Regions from separate parts of the Homo sapiens genome. Here region 2 is linked to region 1. Evidence: promoter capture Hi-C in 16 types of primary human blood cells and fetal thymus (Javierre and others, 2016). All regions are on one chromosome and are shown on one strand. The core of a region is centred on a gene start or on the middle of the fragment in contact, and the rest is flanking DNA. Distances in the headings are between cores, read along the strand shown.

Region 1 (6,522 bases), core at 3,702-6,201:
TAAAGTATTCAAAGTACAAGTAGACAACTCTTCAGAGATGCTTGTGTGTAAAACAGATCAAATACAGATCAACGAGAGAAGCCTGGAGGGGAATGTACATCAAAGAAAGGCTTTTAAGATGACAAATACTTGAGACTATCTCAATGCTGCTGGAAGGAGAGCAAAAATACTCATTCATTTACTGCATAACTGTTTCAAATGGCAAGAAAGATCACTACAGTAGCAGTGAGAGGAACTGGGGTAAAGTAGTCCAGGAATGGAAGTAGGGAACTCTAGTTAGAGGATAATGGCAACAGCCCAGGTGACGATGATGGAGTAGATTAAGGCAGTGGAAGTAGAGATGAGACAGAACTCAAATTTACAGTACTAAGTCTTTGGTTTCCTTTCATAAGACAACTACCTTCTTACCCTGCTAAATTCTCTCCCAAGCCCCTTTAATTTTCACCTCTGATCTCCTTTAGCTCTTCCCACTTGAACTCTTCAGATGCTCCTATAGCCCCTCATATGCACCTTAAGCCCCTCTAAGCTCCAGATCCTTCCCTCTGGAAGCTAAGAGGTGGTGTTAGGGACCCTGGACTCAGAGTCAGACAAATCCCAAACAGCTGTGTGACCTTTGGCAAGTCTCTTACTCTCGCTGATCCTCAGTCTCCTTAAGAGGGTTCAATGGGTGATCCGACTGTGACACTATTAGTCTTTGATGCCCTCCTCCCATCCCCAGTCGCCTTTCCTTGCAGTCAAGGCCCTAAGCTACCACCAGCCTGGGAACTCCAGCTCTGAGCCAGGCCTCAGCTATCTTAATATGTGACCTTGAGCAAGTCAAGTCCCTTCTCTAGAAGGCGTTTTCCCATTTCTATAATGAGGACAGGTGTCTCTGAGCTGCCTGCCTCAGGGCTGTCATAAGAGTCCACCTTAGCGTTTGGAGAACCAAAGCAGACAAACGTGGAACGAGCCAGGGCTTTGCAGAGACTCCCAGCTCTGACACCAATTAGCTGTGTGATCTTGGGCAAGTGACCTAGCCTCGCGGAGCCTGGCTACATCATCTGAAGAGCTGGGACAGTACTAGTGCCCACCTCACAGGGCTGTCCTAAGGCCCAGCAGCCCGGGCCGCCCCTCCTCCCGCCTCCTGCCCGCCTCCAGCCAACCCAGGCCCGCACCTGCGCAGCAGCTGGATCTTGTCGCGGTAGCGGTCGTAGAAAGGGTTGGCCTGGAGCTCGGCCTCGGCCCCGACCCCGCTGCTGTCGGCGCCCCCCTCGGGCCGGCCCGAGCCGGGGCGCACTGGGAAGACGCGCAGCTGCGCGGGTGACACGAGCCCCAGGCCCAGGGCGCGGCTGCGCACCGCGCACAGGCCCCGGTAGAGACCGGCCACCTGCAGGACCGCCGGTCCCGCGCCACCCGCAGCCGCCACCACCACAGCAGCCATGGCCGCCCCCGCCTCCTCCTCCTCCTCAGGCGCGTCGGCCTCGGCCCGCGGCCCGCGCGCCCGCTCCATCCCGCTCCGAGTGCGCCGCGCCCGCGCTCCGGCACCGAGGTTCCGCGCGCCCAAGGTTCCGGGCGCGGGATAGCGGCGAGGCGGGGCGGGGAGGAGGGGGCGCGCCGCTCTGGCCCCGGCACTGCGCGCTCTCGCCGCCCTGTGTATGCCACGGCCCGCCTCCTCCAGGGAGGCTGCCCAAATTCAACGCCCTTCCTCCCTCTGGGACCAGCAGCCTCTGCGCGCCAAGTCCGTTCTCTAAAGCCAGCGGATCTCCATGTCCTCGCGGTGCTTGCCCCTGGCACTCGCTGTAGTGCCAGGCACTCGATGTAGTAGTCCGTCCTTCAGCATCGAAGGTCTTTTCATCAACTATAATCACAGCAGCAAGCTTCTCTTTACTGAGGTTGCTATGTGCAGGACACTGAGCGGCTTCATACTCTGTGTGGCAGTATTATCCTCATCTAACAAATAAGGAAACTGAGGCCGAGAGTAATTATGTGACTTGTTCAAGTTCTACCCGACAGCTGAGCTCTTTTCAAGATGGCAGCTGCCTCCCAAGCCTCCTTTTCCTCTGCTTCCTGACATCCTCCTTGAACTCCAGCCACAGTGACCTATTCTCTCCCAAAGAAACACCAGGATTACTCCTTGAAGAGTCCTTATTCAGGCCCTTTTTGACCCCTGGAATCCTCTCTCCTTCCATTCTCTCAACCCAAATGCCACAATCTTCCTTACCGTCTGAACCAGGTGTGAGCTCCTAGGGTCAGGGACAGTGACATTAACATCTCTGTGTCCCACCTGCTCACAGAACAGGGCCAGTCCTGGAGTGGGCTCTCTGGGACAGTACTCATCATCAGGTCCTTCTTGTCTGGGTTTTGTCTGATTGAAGCCCCTCCTGGGACAGGGGCAGAGCCTTCAACTCTGCTCAATCCAACCTATGCTCATGGAGATCAGCCCTGAGCCCTGCCCTGTGCGAGGAACAGTGTAATGGAAGATGAATAAGTCCTTCAAGTATGCCAGCCCATACCTGGCTCACACTCCTAACACTTGCTGTTTTCTCTGTGGATCTGCATGTGGCTGCCTCCTCATCATCTAAGGGCTCAGTTCACATGTAAGCACCTCCAAGGGACCTAAATGACAACCCCTCCATCTCTTTATAGTCTTTATCCCATCACTCTATTGCATTCTCTTTATAGCAGTTATCATTATCTGAAGTTCTTAGATCCTTGTTTATATTAATTCATTGAGCTTACATTCTAGTGGAGTGAAACAGACAGTAAATATATAATGTTAGGTGATGCTACATGGTATGCAGAAAAACAGCAGGCCAAGAGAGATAGAGATAAGGGGACACTTGAGCAGAGACCTGAAGGTAATGTGGGAATGCTGGGGGAAGAGCCTTCCAGGTAGGGGAAACAGCAAGTGCAAAGGCCCTGATGAGGAGGTTATTGAGTCTGAATGAGTGAGGGCACAGCAGCAGAAATGAGACCAAGAAGGTATAGGGAGGGCTAGTTAGATTGCTTAGGCCTTGGTTAAGGACTTTGATTTTAAATCGAATGAGATCGGAAGTTACTATATGTTTTAAGCAGTGGAGTAACATGATCTACTTTTTAAAAGGATCATGCTGGCTGCTGGTGGGATTTAGGATATGTGGAGGCAAGGATGGAAACTCTCCCAAGGGTGACTAATTTATTCCAGTTTGCCTAGGACTTTCTTGGCTCTAGCATTGAAAGCCCCATGTCCTGAGAACCCACCCCAAGTCCTGGGCAAACCAGGATGTTGGTCACCCTACAGGGAACAGTAATCCAAGTGAGAGATGGTGGTACTTGGACTAAAGTGATAGTGATAAAAAAAAGTGGCCAGATTTTGGTTATATTTTGAAATAAAAGCCTAAAGATCTTGCTGATGGAGTCAGTGTGGGTGTGATAGAATGAAAGGAGTCAAGGATGACTTGCAGGTTTTTGGCCTGAACAACCCGAAGGACAGAGATACTACTTATGAAGAGGAGGAAGGCTGTAGGTAGGGTAGACTTTGGAGGATGGATAATCAGAGTTTGGTTTTGGACATGTTGGTTTGGGATAATTTAACAGACTGGCAAGGAGGGATGTCAACCAGGTATTTGGGTATGAGTCTAAAGTTCTGAGGAGCATTCCAGGCTGGAGAGATACAGTTGCGTACTGTCAGTGTATAGTGATATTTAAAGCCAGGGGTCTGGGTGAGATAACTGATGGAATGAATGTAGATAGAGCACTAAGAACTGAGCCCTAGACATGCCTACATTTAGAGATCAGGGGAAAAGGGAGAAACCAGCAAAGGAGACTGGAAAGTAGGGGCCAGTGATATACGAGGAGAACAAGGGTAAGTGGACCCTGGAGAGAATTCTGTGCTAAATAGTTCCCTAAGTCACACATTGGAGGACTATAAAGAGGGGAGTCATTAAAATGGTGCTAAGAAGCTGAGCTACAAGCAGTGGTGCAACATACTGGGAAGGCTGACTTAAGCTTAATTAGGGAAGGGCTTTCTAACTGAGCTGCCCATAAATGCATCAAGCTGCCTCAGGAGGTGGTGAGCAAGTTCCTGACTCAAGTGAGTCTTGAGTCCAGGGAGATTAGTTGCTGTGTGGGGAAAAATCTACCCCCAGGAGTCAAGCATGGCCCTGATGGTGGGATCAGATGGTGGAGATGAACTAGACAACTCTCAAAGTTTCTTCAAATTGGCGATGATATGATTCTGGGCAGTCTGTCACAGAGTAGGGGGGCTGAGCTGAGTCTTGAAGGATGAGCAGGTGTTCAGTGGTGGAAAAGTGGGCAGGGGCACTCCTGGGTGAAGGAGCAGCATGGGCACACCTCCAGAGATGTGAATGAGCAGGGTCTGTTCAGGAGTACGGACTAGGCAAAAGGGAAAAGTGTGTGGAGGACGAGGAGGGAAGTAAGGCTGGAAGTAGATGCAGGCCAGATGGTGGGAAGCCCCACAGGGCCTGGGGCCTGGGAAACACTTGTCAGCACTTGAAGGAAGGTAATTAAATAAAAGACAGATTGTTGGAGCCAAAGAAGGAGGTATTGACCACTTGGTTCCCTTGAGCAGGTTTCTTCCTGCCAACTTGGTTAGATACTTTTTGAGAACAGGGCTGCCCAATGCTGTGTGTTCCTTGTTACATTCCTCACTGGGGACAGGTATCCCATCAACCGTTCCCTAAAGACCAGCAACATCCGTAAGTACCTGAGGGACAATGGCCCTTTTCTGGGGTCTGCTCTGTGGGTTCACCATAAGGGGTAGGTACAGACAATTCAATAGGTGAACCAGTCTCTGATGGAAGTAGTAGTGACATTCCACCCAAAAAATGCCACTGGATGAAGTCCCCTCCTTCCATTAACCCAGGACCACTTCACAAGCACTGCCCCTAGAATGCCCAATTCTCAGAACCCAGTGACCTCTCCTTTAGAGAACAAAGGGCCTGGGCATTCTGGAGACTCTGATTGGCTGGGCAGATGGGCTGACTGGCTGGGCAGATGGGTGGGTGAGTTCCCTCTCCCCAGAGCCATCGGCCAGGTACCAAAGCTCAGCTGTATGGATTCCCAACAGGAGGACCTGCGCTTCCCTGGGAGTAAGTGCTCCTCCAGTCCCTGTCACTGGACTTGTGCCTTAGGGCTTGGGGACAAACACTCAGGGAAGGCCCTTTGCATGGATGGGACAGTGCCTGGCTGCCTGGAGGAGAGCTAAGCAGTTAGGAGATAGTCTACTCTAGAAAACTAAGAATTATTTTAAGGCAAAGACCATGCTCTGATCAACCAGAGAAGATACTATCAATAGCCCAGGACTATCACAGCTGAATGGAATGGGATGGGACATTGGTGTCTCTGTCAACTGATGAACTTTCACTTTTTTTTTTTTTTTTGAGATGAAGTTTTGCTCTGTTGCCCCGGCTGGAGTGCAGTGGCTCAATCTAGGCTCACTGTAACCTCCACCTCCTGGATTCAAGTGATTCTCCTGCCTCAGCCTCTGAAGTAGCTGGGACTGCAGGCATGCACCACCACACCTGGCTAATTTTAAAATTTTTAGTAGAGACGGGGTTTCACCATGTTGGCCAGGCTGGACTTGAAGTCCTGACCTCAAGTGATCTGCCCACCTGGGCCTCACAAAGTGCTGGTGAACTTTTGCTTCTTGATGGACTTGCCCATAGTGAAACTTCTCAGTCTGATGGATTGGATGGGTCCTGGGTTAGGAATCAGAGGCTTGACTGAGCCTGGGCAGCACATGCCCCCGCTAGACCTAGCTTTTGTGATCTGTAAAGAGTTAAAGGTGGTGCTTAAGCTCCCTGGAAATCTAGCTTTGACTGAATAAGGGAATGATGAGGCAAGTCAATAAGGGAGGGAAGGAACGGTGAGAGTAGTTAAGTGGATGGAGCGATTGATGCATGGGTTAAGTGAAAGAGGAATGAGAAACAGCTCAGGCCCCAAGCTACAGCTATCAGCCAGCATGCCTCTTTTTCTTTCTTGCTGCCTTAGTGTGGGTCTCATTGTACTTTGGAATCCTGGGGCTGTGTTCTGTGATAACTGGAGGGTGCATTATCTTTCTGCACTGGAGGAAGAACTTGAGGCGGGAAGAGCATGCCCAGCAGTGGGTGGAGGTGATGAGAGCTGCCACATTCACCTACAGCCCATTGTTGTACTGGATTAACAAGCGACGGCGCTACGGCATGAATGCAGCCATCAACACGGGCCCTGCCCCTGCTGTCACCAAGACTGAGACTGAGGTCCAGAATCCAGATGTTCTGTGGGATTTGGACATCCCCGAAGGCAGGAGCCATGCTGACCAAGACAGCAACCCCAAGGCGGAAGCCCCTGCTCCCCTGCAACCTGCACTGCAGCTGGCTCCACAGCAGCCCCAGGCCAGATCCCCATTCCCACTTCCCATCTTTCAGGAGGTGCCCTTTGCCCCACCCTTGTGCAACCTACCCCCCCTGCTGAACCACTCTGTCTCCTATCCTTTGGCCACCTGTCCTGAAAGGAATGTTCTCTTCCATTCCCTCCTGAATCTGGCCCAGGAAGACCATAGCT
Region 2 (7,002 bases), core at 2,357-4,856, 630 kb after region 1:
AAAATAACAGCTATTATACAGCATACTAATTAAAAACATAAAATCAACCAAGCAAGACTACATTATAGCAAAGCACTTTGTTCATACCAATAGTACACTAAACTCTTAAATACTAAACTAAACTCTTACAGTAAACTAAACTCTTATAAGCGTATACTAAAGTCTTACTTGCTTATATATATTGATCCATCTGACCAGACAGTGAACTCTGTAATTAATAGTTTTACTCATCTTCATATCCTTGGTACACAGCAAAGAAAATTAGCGCAAAGCAAATACAATAGTTGGCCGAATCAATAAATTCTATTGCAGTCATACAAGTAATTTAAAAAAATGTTTTCTTGTACTGATGGAGTCTTACTATGTTATGCAAGCTGGTCTTAAACTCCTAGGTTCAAGTGATCCTCCCACTCCAGCCTCCCAACGTGCTGGGATTACAGGCGTGAGCACTGGTCCATTTTTAAAAGTGTATTACCTTCGTCTGCTGTCAGAGAACCAAGTAAAAAGCATGACGAATTTTTTTTATTCTGCTTAGCATGACGATAAGCAAGTCGGATGGTCTTCTCAGTCACCACAAGCTTTGGATTTCTGAAAAACAACAAGTCTTTTATGAATATGGTAGACCTCATATCTTAAAAAAACCTCCTGCCATAAAATGCTGTCTAAATTATAACACACATTTTTAAAAATGTACAGAAAGATCATTGTCAGGAAATCCCAGGGTCAAAGGCAGGGGATACGGAGGGCCACTTGGAAACTAGAATGGCAATAAACAGACACTGAAACTATAGTTGTTCTCCAGGCATTTTGTTAACTTTATGAACCTCAGCAGGTAGGTCTCCTGTTTTTGTAAGTAAATTTTGATTGAAACAGTCACATCTGTTTCTTTACATACTGTGTATGGGCTTCAGATATAATCAGCATTACAGTAGTGCCCCCTTATCTCTGGGAGACATGTTCCAGACCCCCAGTGGATGTCTGAAACCACAGATAGTAACAAATCCTATATATACTATGTTTCTTCCTATACATACGTATCTATGATAAAGTTTAATTTATAAATTAGGCACAGTAAATGATTAACAACAATAATTAATAGTAGCATAATTTTAACAGTATACTGTAAAAAAGTTGTGTGAATATGGTCTGTCTCTCAAAATACCTTATTGTATTATACTGTGGGTAACTGAAACCATGGAAAGTGAAACCATGCATAAAGGGGGGAAACTACTGTATTGAATACAAAATATAGTATGATTTAAATGCTTTAAAAAATGTAAAAGGAAAACCAAAATATAAGCCAGGAATAAGATACTACGAAAAAAGACCAGGCAAATTTGAATAAAAAAGCCATACAGAACTTAAAGAAATAAAAAATATAATTTGCAAAAATTCAATAAGTTATATAATTAACTGGGGATAGGTACACAAATGTGTATTGTTATTCTATTAACTATGCATATATACTATAAGTATCCTCTCATATATATGGTACACCGCCACGTTTTAAAAAACCTAAATGAGGGCCAGGCGTGGTGGCACATGCCTGTAATCCCAGCACTTTGGGAGGATGAGGCAGGTGGATCACCTGAGGTCAGGAGTTCGTGACCAGCCTGACTAACATGGTGAAACCCCATCTCTACCAAATACAAAAAAATTAGCCAGGCGTGGTGGCACATGTCTGTAATTCGAGCTACTTGGGAGGCTGAGACAGGAGAATCGCTTGTACATGGGAGGCGGAGGTTGCAGTGAGCCAACATCACGCCACTGCACTCCAGCCTGGACAACAACAGCAAAACTCCTCTCAAAAAAAACAACCAAACTTAAATGAATAGGTTAGATGGCAGCTAAGCACAGCTAAAGAGAAAATAAGCAGACTTGAAAAACAAAGGAAACTACTCAAAATGTACAGAAAGACAACAATAAAAAAAATAAAAACAGGACTAACCATTATTTAGTTGAACTTCCATAAGACTCTCCCTATTTTTGTCAATGGTACCACCCTTCTCTGCCAACTAGTGTTGAACCCGAATACTTTCTTTCTTGTATCTTTCCTTCAGTTCCTCTATTCAGTCAATCATCAAATACTACAAATTATTTATTCAAAACACCTTGTTTCATTCTTTCCTCTTGATCTGAATACTGCTACATTGCTCTAAGTCCTTATAATGTATAATAGATGCCATTTATGAAATACTTTCTATTCCAGGCACTGTGACAATTGCTTTACAGAGTCTTATTTAACCCCTACAAGAGAACTGTGAAACTGGTATTATTATAGTCATTTTATAAATAAGGAAACTGATCCTTGGCTACTTTACTGAGGTTGCATAAATAAGTACTAGAATCAGGATTTGATTCCCTAGGCAGTCTGCTCCAATTATTGCACCGTTTTTTTTTCCTTATTTTGTTTTTTTTTTTACTTTTTATTTTAATTTTTTATTGAGACAAGGTCTCACTTTGTTGCCCAGGCTGGTTTCAAACTCCTGACTTCAAGCAATCCTCCTGCCTCAACCTCCCAAAGTGCTGGGGTTACAGGTGTGAGCCACTGCACCCAGCCCAGTTATAGCACCTTAAACCATTACAATATACACCTGTGTGATTACAGAAAAGCATCTTGAAGCTAGGCTGACTCAAGGCTCTCCCCGCCATAATCTATCCTTCTTAGAATACTACTTTTAACAAGTAACTCTTATGTACAAAACCTCAATAGATCTATTTTCTATTACTTTACACCTAAACTTTCTTGTCTGTCAAGGTCCTAGATGTAACTACAAGATTTTATATTCCTTCTAATCTGATCCACTCAAAAATTGGTTCAAGCTTCTCAACGTTCCACAAAGACACCATGCTGACATAATAAAAAACACTTTCAGTTTTTACTATATTTCACCTCTTTTGAATTCCTACAATATGCAGAATTTGCAGAAAACTGGGAAGATAAGATTATCTCTCAAAAGTACAAGGAACAGATGTTAAGAAGCAGAAGGAAAATTTTGCCTGAGGGGAGATTCTAAAAGAAAAGTAAAGAAAAATGAATAATTGGTCATAGTAATCAACTTTGCCTTATACATCTTTGTATTACTCTTGTTTATACTGGCTTGATTTGAAAAAAAGAAACATGTTATACCTGTAGTAACTGAGATGTAAGTAGATGAAATCTCCAGTTGGCGTTGGGTTCCAAAGTGCACATTTTGATGGAGGAAAGTGGAAAGGTACCATCCTGCTTGAAGGAAACCTTTTGAAAAAACAATGTAAAATTAAAGCACAAGGAATAGCAAACTTGGTAGACATTTGGTAGGAAACAACTAACTATCTTTAAGGTGATGGTATTTTCAGACTACTTTTGTAATTTTCAAAGAGTTTATATATATATATTTTTTTTGAGACAAAGTCTCACTCCATCACCCAGGCTGGAGTGCAGTGGCGTGATCTCAGCTCACTGCAACCTCTGCCTCCTGGGTTCAAGCAATTCCCCTGCCTGAGCTTCCTGAGTAGCTGAGATTACAGGAGTGCACCACCACACCCGGCTACTTTTTGTATTTTTAGTAGAGACGGGGTTTCGCCATGTGGGCAAGCTGGTCTCGAACTCCTGACCTCAAGTCATCCACCTGCCTCGGCCTCCCAAAGTGCTAGGATTACAGGCATTAGCCACTGTGCCTGGCCAAAAAATACTTTTTTATTTTTTGAGACGGATTCTCACTCTGTCGCCCAGGCTGGAGTACTGTGGTGCAATCTCAGCTTACTGCAACCTCCGCCTTCCAGGTTGAAGCGATTCTCCAGCCTTAGCCTCCCAAGTAGCTGGGACTACAGGCACATACCACCATGCCTGGCTAATTTTTTGTATTTTTAGTAGAGACAGGGTTTCACTGTTAATCAGGATGGTCCTGATCTGCTGACCTCATGATCAGCCTGCCTCAGCCTCCCAAAGTGCTGGGATTACAGGCGTGAGCCACCACGCCTGGCCTTTTTTTTTTTTTTTTTTTTTTTTTCAGACGGAGTCTTACCCTGTTGCCCAGGCTGGAGTGCAATGGCGTGATCTCAGCTCACTGCAACCTCCGCCTCTGGGTTCAAGTGATCCTCCCACCTCAGCCTCCCGAGTAGCTAGGATTACAGGCGCCTGCCACCACACGCAGGTAATTTTTTGTATCTTTAGTAGAGACGGGGTTTCACCATGTTGGCCAAGCTGGTCTCAAACTCCTGACGTCATGATCTACCCGCCTCAGCCTCCCAAAGTGCTGGGATTACAGGCGTAAGCCACCGCGCCCGGCCCAAAAAATATTTTTTAAAAAAGAAAATTCACTTGTAACTCTACTACCAGGAGAATAGGCACTCAAAATTTGGCTTATTTGTCCTTTTTTATCTATGCATATGTAAATTTATGTATACACAAGCTTTTAAAAAAAGAACAAGACAATCCTACAAAATCCCTTTTAAGTAACAGAAAAATGAGTATAAATCATACATTTACATTTAAATTTAAACTAAAATCTTTCTTTTCTTTCCTTTTTTTTTTTTTTTTTTAAAGAGCAGGGCCTTGCTCTGTTGCCCAAGCTGGAATGCAGGGGCTCAATCATACCTCACTGCAGCCTTAAACTCCTGGGCTCAAGGGAGCCTCTCAAGCAGCTAAGACCACAAATGTGCACCACCACGTGAGATTTACTTTTGTAATTTTTGTAGACACAGGGTCCTGCTATGTTTCCCAGGCTGGTCTTGAACTCATGGTTTTAAGCAATCTTCCCACCTTGGCCTCCCAAAGCACTGGGATTATAGGCATGAGCCATGGCTCCTGGCCTAAAATCTGTCTTTCTGAACTGATTTCCAGATAATTGTTAGATAATACCCAACAGTTATGAAAAGCAAAAAAACTTAATAAATTCTTAATTATTTTCCAGTGTTTCCAAATTTGGTATTCTGGAATACCAAAATACAGCACAAGTTTAATTATTGAAGCGTCAAAAGGACATAATTATAAATAATTCCTCAACAAAGATGCCAGGGGCAGTGTAAAGCAAGGTTGTGATATTAAATCATATAGGGTACCATCAAAAACTTTTCATTTTACATGAGTGTATAACACGAGAAAACCACAATAAGAAAAAGACCACTAATGGGGCCAGGCCTGGTGGCTCACACCTATGTCAGCACTTTGGGAGGCCAAGGCAGGTGGATCACTTGAGGCCTGCAGTTCGAGACCAGCCTGGCCAACATGGTGAAACCCCATCTCCACTAGAAATACAAAATTAGCCAGGTGTGGTGCCACGCGCCTCTGGTCCCAGCTAGTTCAGAGGCTGAGGCACGAGAATCACTTGAACCCAGGGGGAAGAGGTTTCAGTGAGCCAAGATCACGCCACCCCACTACAGCTTGGGTGACAAGAGCAAAACTCCATCTCAAAAAACAAAAAACAAAAAATTAGCTGGACATGGTGGCACACGCCTGTAATCCCAGTTACTCAGGAGGCTGAGGCATGAGAATTGCTTGAATCAGTTGAGGTTGCAGTGAGCTGAGACCGCACCACTGCACTCCAGCCTGAGTGACAGAGTGAGACTCTGTCTTGTTGCGGGAAGTCAGGGACCCCAAATGGAGGGACCGGCCGAAGCCATGACTGAAGGACGTGGATTGTGAAGATTTTATGGACATTTATTAGTTCCCCAAATTAATACTTTTGTAATTTCTTATGCCTGTCTTTACTGCAATCTCTAAACATAAATTGTAAAGATTTCATGGACACTTATCACTTCCCCAATCAATACCCTTGTGATTTCCTATGCCTGTCTTTGCTTTAATCTCTTAATCCTGTCAGCCGAGAAGGATGTATATCGTCTCAGGACCCTGTAATAATTGCGTTAACTACACAAATTGTACAGCATGTGTGTTTGAGCAATATGAAATGTGGGCACCTGAAAAAAGAACAGGATAACAGCAATTGTTCAGGGAATAAGAGAGATAACCTTAAACTCTGACCGCCGGTGAGCCAGGCAGAACAGAGCCATATTTCTCTTCTTTCAAAAGCAAATGGGAGAAATATCACTGAATTCTTTTTCTCAGCATGGAATGTCCCTGAGAAAGAAAATGCGCACCTAGGGGTAGGTCTCTGAACTGGCCCCCCCGGGGCGTACCTGTCTCTTATGGTCGAGATTGCAGAGGTGAAATAAACTCCAGTCTCCCATAGCGCTCCCAGGCTTATTAGGAAGAGGAAATTCCCACCTAATAAATTGTAGTCAGACCGGTTGATCTGAAAACCCTGTCTCCTGATAAGATGTTATCAATGACAGTGGTGCCCAAAACCTCATTAGCAATTTTAATTTCGCCTCAGTCCTGTGGTCCTGTGATCTCGCCCTGCCTCCACTTGCCTTGTGATATTCTATTACCCTGTTAAGTACTTGATGTCTGTCACCCACACCTATTCGCACACTCCCTCCCCTTTTGAAACTCCCTAATAAAAACTTGCTGGTTTTTGTGGCTTGTGGGGCATCACGAATCCTACCAACGTGTGATGTCTCCCCCGGAAGCCCAGCTTTAAAATTTCTCTCTTTTGTACTCTGTCCTTTTATTTCTCAAGGCAGCGGACGCTTAGGAAAACAGAAAAGAACCTACGTGATTATCGGGGCAGGTCCCCCGATACTGTCTCAAAAAACAAAAAAAAAGAAAAAAGAAAAAGAAAATGGAAAAAAAAAAGAATAAATTCCTGTCATTTGCAACAACATGGTTAGAACTGGAGATCACCATGTTAAGTGAAATAAGCCAGGAGCAGAAATACAAACTTCACGTTTTCGCTTATTTGTGGGATCTAAAAATCAAAACAATGGAACTCATGGACACAGAGAGTAGAAGGATGGTTACCAGAGGCTGGGAAGAGTAGTAGGGGTTGGGTGAGAGGTAGACACAGTTAATGGGTTTAAAAAAAAAAAACCAGAAAGAATGATTAAGACCTATTATTTGATAGCACAGCAGGGTGACTATAGTCAATAACAACTTAAAAGTAATAAATAATAACATTT

Evidence for each region. Contacts are between HindIII fragments. The CHiCAGO score rates a contact against its expected background, and 5 or more counts as called.
Region 2: a fragment that was not itself captured here is called in contact with the fragment with the promoter of TEX38 in region 1 in 4 of 17 cell types (M1 macrophages, erythroblasts, M0 macrophages and 1 more); the score reaches 6.2 in M1 macrophages.

The regions. Positions count from the first base shown.
Region 1 is chr1:46,666,903-46,673,424 of GRCh38, forward strand. It overlaps TEX38 (testis expressed 38), which reads left to right and starts at 4,952. Exons shown (of 2, transcript NM_001145474.4): 1 at 4,952-5,069; 2 at 5,971-6,522. The coding sequence starts at 5,033. ATPAF1 (ATP synthase mitochondrial F1 complex assembly factor 1) reads right to left here and starts at 1,462. Exons shown (of 9, transcript NM_001394565.1): 1 at 1,155-1,462. The coding sequence starts at 1,420. RefSeq lists silencers at 1,032-1,651, 1,079-1,249 and an enhancer at 1,762-1,911. The HindIII fragment of the contact is 3,767 bases long and covers 3,965-6,522 here.
Region 2 is chr1:47,301,759-47,308,760 of GRCh38, forward strand. STIL (STIL centriolar assembly protein) reads right to left here. Exons shown (of 17, transcript NM_001048166.1): 3 at 3,131-3,238; 4 at 476-588. Among named protein-coding and RNA genes, the nearest start is that of STIL, 8.9 kb to the right of the region's middle. RefSeq lists an enhancer at 4,747-5,312. The HindIII fragment of the contact is 1,571 bases long and covers 2,822-4,392 here.